2 separate regions of the Homo sapiens genome follow, and region 1 is linked to region 2. Evidence: promoter capture Hi-C in 16 types of primary human blood cells and fetal thymus (Javierre and others, 2016). All regions are on one chromosome and are shown on one strand. The core of a region is centred on a gene start or on the middle of the fragment in contact, and the rest is flanking DNA. Distances in the headings are between cores, read along the strand shown. Region 1 holds the start of RPL27A (ribosomal protein L27a). Region 2 holds the start of BMAL1 (basic helix-loop-helix ARNT like 1).

Region 1 (4,752 bases), core at 1-2,500, 4.6 Mb after region 2:
CATTACCGCGGCCGCCGGGGTGCTTCCGGTGCTTGCCTGCAGGAATACAAAGCTACGTGGGGCCGGTGTGATGGCTCATGCCTGTAATCCCAGCATTTTAGGAGGACGAGGGGGGGTAGATCACCTGAGGTCAGGAGTTCGAGACCAGCCTGGCCAACACGGAGAAACCCCCGACTCTACTAAAAATAGAAAAAGAATTAGCCGGGCGTCGTGGCGCACACCTGTAATATCAGCTACTCGGGAGGCTGAGGCAGGAGAATCGCTTGAGCCCGGCAGGCAGGGGTTGCAGTGAGCCGAGATTTCGCCACTGCACTCCAGCCTGGGCGACAGTGATCAGTCTCACACACACACAAAAAAGCTACATGCACCACACAGCCTTCTCATGCATCTCAATACTTCCTCGCACAAAAGCAGAGTGTTTCCCAGACTTCTGTGTCCCGCTTACGCTGTTCCCACCCTACCGATGCCGGTTTTCAGCAATGCGATTACTTTAGGATTCCGGGTGAAACATCTTTTCAGGTTCCACATCACAGCATTCCCACAGTACTCCATGTCTTCAACTAACCCAATACCGTGCCTGCTCAATTCCTATTACCCCACTGATGTGAAATTCCTTAGAACTGGAATACTAGAGGATCGTCAGAAAAAAATCAACAGCTGTGCAACTTGACCACAAAAAGGTCTTATTCTAACCCACTTATAGGCTACCGATCTCCAGACTAGCTAAGCACCCGAAGAGAGCCCAAGGCCCACCCCGAGGGGAAGCCGGCACTTACCTATGCGGCCGTGGCCGTGGCTCACGTGGCCCCTAAGTTTCCGGGTCTTCCTCAGTCTGGATGGCTGTGTGGAAAAAGCTTGGTGGTAAGGCCTAAGGAATTAGGGGCAGGGGGCGATGCCCGCCAGCCGAGATGGTCCTGTAAGCCTGTGGGTCAAAGACCTAACTTCTGGAGCGTTTGGGAAAGCTGAGGGTACCGATCCGCTCAGGGCCGTGAGGTCTCACCACGGTAGCGCAGGGGCCCGCGTGTCCTAGAGATCCGAACCGCGGGCCTAACACACGGCTCCGGGAGCCCCGCCCCGGGCCCGCGCCGGCCACCCTGCCCCGCAGGCGGCCATGCGCAGCCTGGAAGCCCCGACCATGGTAGGGAGTGGATGACTAGGGGCAATGGGAATACAGCTTAGGGGTCTCCGCCGGCAAGGAAGAGGAGGCAAGAAACGAAACACCTACCATGTTGGCAGCCCAGACGAAAAAGGAAGGCCTTCGCCAAGTCTCGCGAGGTATCGGCCACGGGGGCGGGGCAAAACGCCTCACTTCCGGTCACAGAGGCCGGGCTTCGGGCGGGGCCTCCTGGTCTCGCGGGATTGCGCGCCTGCTAGTCGCTTCCTCTTTCTGAGGGTGGTGATCCCCCATCACGGAGTGTCCTGGTGGCGGTGTACGGTTTCGGTGAGGCTCGTTGTGCTAGGCTCGGAGGGCGAGAACTGTTGAAGAATCGGGGCTAGGTGTGCTGTACTGCACGCCGCCCGTGCTTGCTTGAGCCAGGCCCTTTTCTGGCGCCTTGGTCAGGGAACCGCCTAAGCCGACCCTAAGGGCCTCGTTGTCTGAGCTCCTCACCAAATGCGCCAGCCCTGAGCCGCCCCGCGCACCTCCACAGTTCTTAGTGGTCTGCCCGGGGCTGGTGATAGTGGCTACTGGTTTGTCTCCCGGCCGCAGTGCGGAACCGCGAGGCCCTCTTTAATCCTCAGTGTGCCCACCTGGTGTCTCGCTCGGTTTCCTGAAGCTCGGGCGGCTCCCGAAATGCCTTCTCCCGCTCTCACACTTCTGAGTGGGCACTGCAGCTTCCTTTCTCTTTTGCCCTTTTGCTATCATTTGGTTGTCCTCTCAAGTTTGAGCAACTTAAATTGCTTCAGGGACTTAGATGCCTGGTTGCTTTATGGTCCTTTTAATGCAGATGTTGTAAATACTTTTTCTAAATGCCACATTTAGGCCAGGCGCGGTGGCTCACACCTGTAGTCCCAACACTTTGGGAGGTCGAGGCGGGAGGATTTCTTGAGGCGAGTAGTTCAACACCAGCCTGGGCAACATAGTGAGACCCTCGTCTCCACATACAAAAGTAAATAAGTAAAAATAAATGCTATTTTTGAATTTTCTCCAGAATCTACATAACACGCCTGTGACCCTTTCCTGGACACAATGCAGACAGTTGCTCGCTTCCCCACCTGTACCACCACACAATCTAGTATAACCCTTATGTAATTTATTGACCTACGTTTGTCTTCCCTACTAGACCTAATTCCTTATGTGGTCAAGGACTGTTTTTTTTAATCCACACTCAACTAGTGATTGTTGAGTGAATAAATGAACTTACCCTCACCTCCCTGTCTTCGCTAATAGCAGCATGTCTTCGCTCTTAAGTCGGTTCCTTCAACCAGTGTTCAAGATCCCATCCCCTCGCTAGTCTATTAATAGATCCCATGGGAAAAATGAAATAAATTTTTAAAATCCCATCCCCTCAGTTATTCTCTGTGTGTATGTGTGAGCGTGTATTTATTTATTTTTCTTTGTCTTGCCCCCTTCAGCTAAAATATATTTTAGCTAAAATATCCAAAATTCTGGCCGGGCGTGGTGGCTTACTTCTGTAATCCCAGCACTTTGGAAGGCCGAGGCGGGCGGATCACGAGGTCAGGAGATCGAGACCATCCTGGCTAACACGGTGAAACCCCGTCTCTACTAAAAATACAAAAAATTAGATGGGCGTGGTGGTGGGCGCCTGTAGTCCCAGCTACTCGGGAGGCTGAGGCAGGAGAATGGCGTGAACCCGGGAGGCGGAGCTTGTAGTGAACCGAGATCGCGCCACTGCACTGCAGCCTGGGCGACAGAACGAGACTCCGTCTCAAAAAAAAAAAAAAAAATTCCAAAATTCTCCCATGTCCTTGCCCTTACAGCCAAGCTCCCCAAAAGAGTAGTCTACAAATCCTGCCCATTTGCACCTTCCCATCCATTGTTCACTGCGGTCTAGCTCACAGCCTGTGACTTCAGTGAAATTGCTCTTACTAATGTCATTAATGAACGAATTGCCAAATTGGACTCTTCCTATTCTTCATATCACTTGTTCTTTCTGTTGTACTTTAATCTGTTGGCGTCTTTTTCTAGAAAAAGTCTTGCCTTCCTCCTACTCTTTGGTCACTTTTCAGTCTTCTTTTCAGGTTCTTCCATCCAGCGTTGTCCACCATTTGAATGTTGATGTTCCTCAGCCTTCTGTCCTTGTCCTTATCTTTTCACAGTACATGGTCTTCTTGGGTGGCTTCAATTCACATCCTTATTGCTGAGCTCCACACCCATATGGTCACTTAATTACTGGTTAGTATTCCTTGGACATTCTACAGACAAAGTAAACATATCCAAAGAACTCAATCTGCACTGCTCACTGGTGCCTTCTCCTTTATTCTCTGTCTTGGTGAGTGGCACCATTGTCCACCTAGATAATGAAAATTGTCCCCAAGCCTTCTCTTCTTCTACTACACTGTCACCCTATCCTTTTGTTTCTGTATCTCCCCAATGTGCTTCCTCTGTTTAAGCCTTAGTGCCCTGCCTTCATTCAGGCCCCCATCATATCTCTTAACTGGAGTTTACAACACCTTCCTTTGTTCACTCTGCCTGCATTCTAACCCTCCTCCAATTTCTGTATCCTTCACACCTCCACCACGTTAGTATTCCGAAAACATGACTTTCATTCTTTTACTTGATCAAAAAGTTCGGTAGCTCCTTATGACCAACAGAATATAGCCCACTTGCCTTTCCAGCCTTACCCCAGCCTCTCCCTTACACAAGCTTTCTACTGCAGCCGTGCCTGGTATATCCCATTTGCATTTTTGCCTTTGCTCATGCTGTTTCCCATCCCGGAGTGCCCATCCTCTTCCTGACCACATGTCCTGAATCTTCCTCAACCTTTAAGGCCAACTTTATATTCTGCTTCTTCCCAGAACACTTCAGTCCACAAGGATAACAACCAACATTTTCAGAGCACTTGGCAATTTACAAAATACATCTGCCTGAAGGTACAGCACTACCAGCCTCATTTTACGTGTGTGAAAACTGAAGCACAGAAGAATTGGGTGACTTGTCAGACGCTGCATAGGTGGTCAGGTACAGAGCCTGGGCCTAGCCTTTAGTCTTCTCTCTCCAGATCCCCTGCTTTTACCTCAGTGACCAGTCCCTCTCTGACCTTACAGCATTATGGTCTTCATCCCTCCATCAACCTTAATCACATACTGCATGTGACCAGCAGGAAGAGGGGTCTTGAGAATAGGAGGGGAGATCAAAGAAGACATCGTCGTCTATTTGACATCAAAACTGGCCAGTAAGTGCACAAGAAATGAGCTGGGTTACCTGGAACCTAACCTTGGGAAGATGATCTGTCAATGGAGGTAAGCTGGGCAGGGCCTTGGGAATGAAAGGGAACCATCAGTGGTATTAGAGCTGGGGCCTACAATAAGGACCACCACTGCAAGGGGTTGAGGTAGGGTTCTGGGTGCTAAGACACTCCTCTTGGATAGTTTGCCAGGTTCCTTGGTTATAGAGGAGCTACGTTCTGTCCCTCAGGTCACGCGGCTGAACAGAAGGCCTCCCAGAGTGGACCCAGCACTACCCGTTGGGTTCTGTGTTCACCTAACATTCTTCTCATCAATGGCTTGATCTGGTTGTAGAGGGAGTACCCTGGGTAGTTGTCTGGCTCAATCCAGTTTTCTATCCAGCTC
Region 2 (6,825 bases), core at 4,326-6,825:
TAGCTGCTATTATCGTAATAATTATTATTCCTATTTTGCACTCAGAGAAGCTAATTAACTTGCCCAGGTCAGACATTTCAAACAGTGATTGAAGGAATAAATACAAGCCAATGCTTCATTCAGTATATGCACAAAACCCAGTGGGTAGAGCAATAGCCAAATATTAAATTAGGCAGACCAGCCATCCCCTTCTTTAACCAGGCTAGATAAAGAATTAGTTTACACTATTTAAAAGGACAGCACATACTAAGGTAAAAACCACTCTCCATTACATGCCAGTACTCAACGTTCCCCTGCAGCAAAGATGACTAAACCTTATCCAATCTTATCTCCCCCTGAGGTTAAGTCCCCAATTCAAACCCTCCTTCCATGCAGACCTAAGTACTTACGGCCATGTCCACTTATGGCCCTGTTGCACCCCCACCTCTATGCAGTGTGCATCCTGTTCCCTCCACCTGCTCCGTCCCTGAGTGCCCACCCCATCCCATCTCCTCCTCCACAAGATCAATGTGCATTGGACAACCATGGCCTAAAGGCTCCCTGTGCCTGTCATTTTGGAAAAAGCAAGATAAACTTCTCCCAGAATGCTCAGGCTGAGCGAGCAGGTGAGATATTTTCAGAGACAGCCCAACACAATATGGAATGCAGCAGAACCTAAGAGAATTGGAGAAAAATCAATGTGGACATTGCTGCCAGGTGTGGGGAGGAAGGAAAACAAAATGAAGAAATAGTGCTGCAGGACCAAGGCCCTGGGTCCTAAAAGCAGAGGAGGATTTGGACACGTGAAAATTGAGGGATGGACTGGGCCAAGGGCTGGTACAGGGAATGGACAGCCCCTCAGCTTGACTACAGTGTCCAGGCACATGGCAAGGTCTGGCAGACAGGCAGGCTGAATGTGGAGACCACTACAAACCAGGCCAAGGCACCCCGGCAAGGCAACGAAGAGCAGCAAGACTGACAGCAACATTCACTGAGTGTTTGCAATGTGCCATGAATAGACTGGCACACTTTTTCCAATGCTTTAACTCATTTAATCCACACCTCAACTCTCTGATGTAGGGGCTACTATGATCCCAGTTTTATAGATGAGGACACCAAGGCATAGAGAGCAAAAGAAAATTGACCACAAGTCACGAAGCCAGTAGGGAATACTTAGGATGTGAAATCTGGCTCCAGAGTCTGTATGCTAAACTACCCAACCAAACTGCCTTTTAGGACAGCCTGGGGAATGAAGGGATGTAGGCTCCAGTGTGTCATGAGGACTCAATGTGACAGTGCTTGCAAGCAGTCTGCAAACCTGTAACTCCGAGACCACAAATGCAGATTACAGGCTGCCATTCATGTCCACAACGGACCTGCTAGCAGAACACAGGAGAGACAGGTCAGGGCTAGAGAGGGGACCCCAGGCCACGGACAGTGTGAATAGCAGAAGCTAGGACAGACATTTATCTTTACAGGGGTGCAGGAAGAGAATCAAGAAACCAGCATGACCCAAAGGCTGAGAGAGGAAAGGATTTCAAAGGACAAAAAACAAGTGAGGTAAAAGCTTCAAAGGGGCTGAGCACAGTGACTCACGCCTGTAATCCCAGCACTTTGGGAGGCCAGTGCAGGTGGGTCACTTGAGCCCAGGAGTTTGAGACCAGCCTGGGCAACATGGCAAAACTCCATCTCTAATAAAAATACAAAAATGAGCCAGGTGTGATGGCACGTGTCTGTAGGCTCAGCTACTCTGGAGGCTGAGGCAGGAGGATTACCTGAGACTTGGGAGGCTGCAGTGAGCCACGATTGCACCACTGCACTCCAACCAGGCAAGACTGAGACCATGTTTAAAAAAATAAAAGAAATACTGCAAAGGGGCCAAGAACAACCACTCAGGAATAAGGATGGGCAGATGGGCCCCAGGAACTCACGACAAAGTTTTGGAGAAAACTTTGAGAAGAAATATAAAGAAAGGTGGTAGCGAGAGAAGCCAGAGGGCAGGTACTAAGAATGGAGCAGGAGATGGGAGAGTGGGGGAGGCTGGCAGGAGGGAGGAAAGAGAGGCTTACGAACCCAGGGTACCAAGTAAAGACACATGTAAATTGCCTGGTACACAGCAGGCTCACCACAAGTCTGACTCTGCCTCTTCCATCCTTCCTCTCCTAAGTCAAGCCTAAGGTTTTCAGGGTGGGGCAGGGGAGACTAAGGACAAACAGCACAAATAATATTCTAGTGATAGGACCCGGGTAGAGGTGAGAAGGAATGGCAGCTGGCACAAAGGAAAGGCTTCCTGTGTGCCAGGCCTTTTACATGCACCATCTCCCTTAATCCTCACACAGACTCCACGAGGCAGGCACTGCCATTACACCAAGAGGAGAAACCTGAGGTCAGAGGAGTCAAGCACACATCCAAGACCACAAAGCCCAAACCTGAGCCATGGATTCTTCTGCCACCAGAGCCCAGGCACTTGCCCATGGTGAGAGGCCAAGAAAAGGAACAGAGGAGAGGTCCACTTGCTTTCTCTGAATTGGGAGGAGATGAGGGGACGATGGGGATAGAGACAGGACATTTTGGGTGGGAAGTAAGAGATGCTGAGGGGGTTGAGTCAGAGCAGGTCTTATTTCATGAGAGGGAGAAGAAAAGACAAGGTGGGTATTTGGGATAAATCTGAGTCTTGTGATAAGGTGACAATGAAAAAAGACTGTGGAGAAGGATAACATGCCTGTGTCCCTAGCTCCCAACGAAACCTCAAGGTCTAGAAAGGATATTTTACTTCCCTGCAAGTACCTACTTTAGTTATCATGATGCTTCCTAAAATCACTGCATGTAATCACGGGGCTGAAACTGTTTATTTAATATTGATTTTCCTACCACAGTGAGAGTTGATGATGAAATCACAAAGAAAGCTCAGATACATTATAACCCTTACACCAAAGAGAGATATTAACTATCTAGTTTTTACCTTTTCATATGCAGTTTTGTTAATACAGCCAAATCTTTCTATGGTGCTTCTCCATCTTTTAGCATATAAATTCCACAGAGATTGTTGGTGTGAAGGGATAAATCTGAAAACATGGCCACTTCCTTTTCCTGCCCTGTGGCATGCAAACCTCTTCTGCAAATAGCAGACAAACTCGTAAGTAGTCATCATTTTATAAATCATTTGAAATGGATTCTTCAAAACACCATCTGTTGATCTGCTTAACTTTCTTATGAAAATAGGGCTTCAGCTCAGATATTCTGGAGGTGCCAGGAGGTAAATACCAACCTGAATTCAAATGTATTAAATATTTAGAGACTTACAGAACTTCAAAAGAGAGGAACCTTTGAGATCACCTAGTTCAACCGTCTTACTTTCCATCAGAGGCAAACACAACCTAGAAATCTTTAATAACTTGCCCCGACTGGAACGGCCATGAGAGCCCAAGCCTAAACTAGAACCAGGATGTCCAGCTCCTAACTCCCAGGTTAGTGCTTTTCTACCAGATCTGTTCGTTCTTCAGAGGGTTGAATAAAGAACAAATTTAACTACAGTTTTAACTTATTGTTATCATTCACTGGCTGCATCTACAATCAAAACCAAAATGCTTCTACAGAACCAGCTTCAGATGATACAGGCAATTTCAAATCCTGTCCAGGAAATTTCCAAACCTTCTAAATATGTTCTATAAGCTGCGTTAAAGACTTATCAGTAAAATGATCTGAGTAACAAAACATGGACTGAAAGACTGAATTTTGTATTTTCAAAAATATTTGGGAATTCCATTGATATGGAAATCAAATATAACACCAGCGAATTTTTTTAAGTCTTGCAAGCAGAGAGAGCATGATATTATTCAAAACTGCTCAGGAGCAGCAATGATTATTTTAAGCTCATGATTCAACGGGTACATTAATTAAAAACTCCACCAACCCAAATTCACAGATCCGGATATCAATGAGACCAGAAGAATTAAAATAATAGTTGTCATTTAATAATAGATTAAAGGGGTGAACAACAGCAGATGTCAGAAGGACAAATGACAAGCAAGCAGGTGTCGTGGGAAATGAATGCATCTAAGGGGCAGCTTTTATGGATGTTTAATAAAACGACGATGCTGGAAATACGGGTATACGGGTAGTGTCAAGAAAAGCTTGTTCACAAATACGGAATCTGATTTTTGGAAGCTGGGTGAGAAAACTTGGCTAATAATTCCTCGCTGAGGAGTAGCGGTGGAAGAAGGAAGAGACCGCAAGCGCCAAAGCGCCAAAACAACGCTAGGTGACCGGGAAGGGGCCGAGGCGGAGAGGGGAGAGGGGTCAGGAGGTGCGGGGTGCGCGGCGGCAGCGGGTCTCTCACCGGCCGGCGAGAACTTGACAGCAGGCGCCGGTGTCCAGCACTCCCCTTCCCTCCCCAGCTCCTGCCGGCGGGCACCTGAGCTCACCCCGCTGCCGGCTCTCGCGACCCCTCGGGGAGGCTAACATGCGCCCCACAAGGTCGACGTTCACCTCTACCTTCCTCGTCTTCTTCCAAGCAAACGGGAAGCTCTCTGGGATGTCAACGCCCGGCAATAGCCGAGCGGGAACCTTTTCTTCCCTGACATCTGTCAAACCCGGAGCTGGAGCCAGGCTCGCTGCGCCCTCCGCGGAGCTCTGGGACTCCAAGGCCGGCCCGCACCCGGGCTCCGGGCGACATCCCCAGGCCGACGCGCACCTGCCCGCAGACCCACGGGGCATCCTTGAGGGCCGCCCAGGACCTGGACGGCACAGGCCCCACGAAAGTTCGCAGGCTGGGGTCGGCCCCGTGCCGGCCGGGGATTCCCGGGTGCAGCGCCAGCCCTGGCTACAGGGCCGAAGGGGCGGGCGGACTTGGACTCCCCAAGCCCGACGGAGACGCCCTCCCCGCCCCCACCCAGCCTCGCGGGCTCCCGAAAGGGAAGTGAAGCGGGGAGGAAGGGCAGACGCGGCACCGTTCGCCCAACGCCCTTGAGGGGCAGCCACCAGGCATGGTCCCCTCGGGGATCCCCGAAGCTCCCGGGGACACATCTAGGAGTCCTCTTCGGCCGAGTCACTGCCCCCAAGGGCAGAGCTATCCCTTTAAGAGGCAGCTAGCTGCCCCCTCCCCCCGCCAGGTAGCGATGCCCGCGGAAGGGCGGTGGGTACTCCAGCGAACACTTTCCCGGCCCCTTTAAGGGCTCCTGCAGCACCTCTGCCTGCCCTAGCCCGCAGCGGCAGCCCCCGCGAGGAGGATGGGGGCGGACGGGCGCGGCGCCTTTAAGGGGCGCAGCCTCCCCACGGCCCGGGTGGGGGCAGGGAGCGGTCACGGGCCCTTTAAGGCCGGCAGCGGGCACGTCGGGCAGGGTTCTTCGGCGGCCGGGTTGCCCCCGGGGCGGCGGCAGGGGCGCAGCGCCCGCGAGGGTGCTAACGGCCCCCGACGGGGTGCGCGGGATCGCGTCGCTGGCCGCCGCCGGCCTGACACTCACCGTGGCTCGCCGGGAGCGCCCGCGCCCGCGCCCGCACTCGGATCCCGCGGCGGCGGCGGCGGTGAGTCCGGCGCGGGTAAACAGGCACCTCCGTCCCTGACCTACTTTCTGCCTTCCCTAAATGTCGCACCACTAACCTACTTTCCGACCAATCCGCTCCCCGCCGGCCCAGGCCCGGCCCCCCGCCCACCAATCGCTGTGCCCAACCCCCCTTCCCCGCCCACCAATGGAGGAGCCGCAGCGCCCGGATACCTGCCTCTTCCCGCCAGCCAATCCGAACGCCCGAAGGGAGCCGGTCCCGGCGGCCGCCCCCAGCCAATCCGCGCGCGGCTCGGCAGCCCGCTGGCCAGTTGTGTGGCGGCTAGAGAGGCCGCTGACCAATGGCGAGGCGGCGGGAGCCGGTTTACCTGCTACTTTCCTGCCACCAATCATTTGGCGCACAGGAGCGCACGCCCCGAGGAGAGGACCAATCCGCGCGCGCTCCCTGGGTTCCTCGCCCCTGCCCTCTCCCTTTCCCCTCAGGTCTCCCACTAGCCGCGGCCACTGCGGTGCCCAAGCCGCGCTCCTCGGGGTCGCCCGGGATGTCCCTCTTCTCTGGGTCCCCTGCCGGCTGGCGTTTGGCCGCCCGCCCTCACCCCTCCTCCTTCTTCTTCTCCCCTCCGGGCATTCCGACGAAAAGCAGCAGTTCCTGACTCCCTCTCTCCCTCCGGCTCCATCTAGGAAACCAATTTTAGGAACGTTGAGTGCCAGACCCTTCCTAAAATCCCTGGTTTGCCAAAGTCTCAACGAGAGAACGGATACTTAGTATTTCTAGAAGGCATTTCCACCCCGAGGACTGCAAGTGTTCTCACGTTCTTTGCGTTCATCATGACCTCCAAGTGTCCCACTGGAGCTGTCATTCCCGTAGTTCCAAAGAGAATACTCGAGCGCGGAGCGATTCCATTGCATTTCCTTCCAGTAGCCAGGTTTTGACCACTTACTGAAGAGTAGACACCAGCCCCGCGGCAGCGCTCTCTGCTGCAAAAAGCTGTCTACGGAGCAAGACGGAAGGAAACAGTTACAGAAAATAAAAATTTGATAACGACATGCGACTCGGTTGCTGAGAGGACAGAGAAAGTGACTTATTTTTGCATCTCAGGCACTTTGTAGAGGGCCTTTAGCACAAAGAACTCCCGGCTCTTCCAGATGTTAAACTCCCTGAATAGAAGGACAGCGTCTTCTTTTTCGTTATCCATCATGTCAGCTCTCCTTTAGCGCCTGCTGGGGTAGGGTGGAGTGGTGGGGGCGGGGCTGGCACCCAACAAGTGCACCATAAATATCTGTTGGCTGGATACATGAACAAATGGAATTAAATAAATTGGCCTAATTCTGTTACCCAGACTGG

The links. The method cuts DNA at HindIII sites, captures the fragments that hold promoters and counts their contacts. A CHiCAGO score of 5 or more calls a contact.
Region 1: a contact is called between the fragment with the promoter of RPL27A here and the fragment with the promoter of BMAL1 in region 2, in 2 of 17 cell types (fetal thymus and total CD8 T cells). The highest score is 7.1, in fetal thymus.

What each region holds. Positions count from the first base shown.
Region 1 is chr11:8,679,290-8,684,041 of GRCh38, reverse strand. RPL27A (ribosomal protein L27a) reads right to left here and starts at 1,250. Exons shown (of 5, transcript NM_000990.5): 1 at 1,226-1,250; 2 at 777-840; 3 at 1-36. The coding sequence starts at 1,228. TRIM66 (tripartite motif containing 66) reads left to right here and starts at 1,377. Exons shown (of 25, transcript NM_001388022.1): 1 at 1,377-1,441; 2 at 3,979-4,141; 3 at 4,228-4,422. RefSeq lists enhancers at 329-971, 1,298-1,487, 1,688-1,757, 621-1,820 and a silencer at 978-1,177. The HindIII fragment of the contact is 2,972 bases long and covers 857-3,828 here.
Region 2 is chr11:13,276,540-13,283,364 of GRCh38, reverse strand. It overlaps BMAL1 (basic helix-loop-helix ARNT like 1), which reads right to left and starts at 5,575. Exons shown (of 20, transcript NM_001297719.2): 1 at 5,442-5,575. RefSeq lists silencers at 4,565-4,904, 5,185-5,254, 5,325-5,974. The HindIII fragment of the contact is 3,232 bases long and covers 4,115-6,825 here.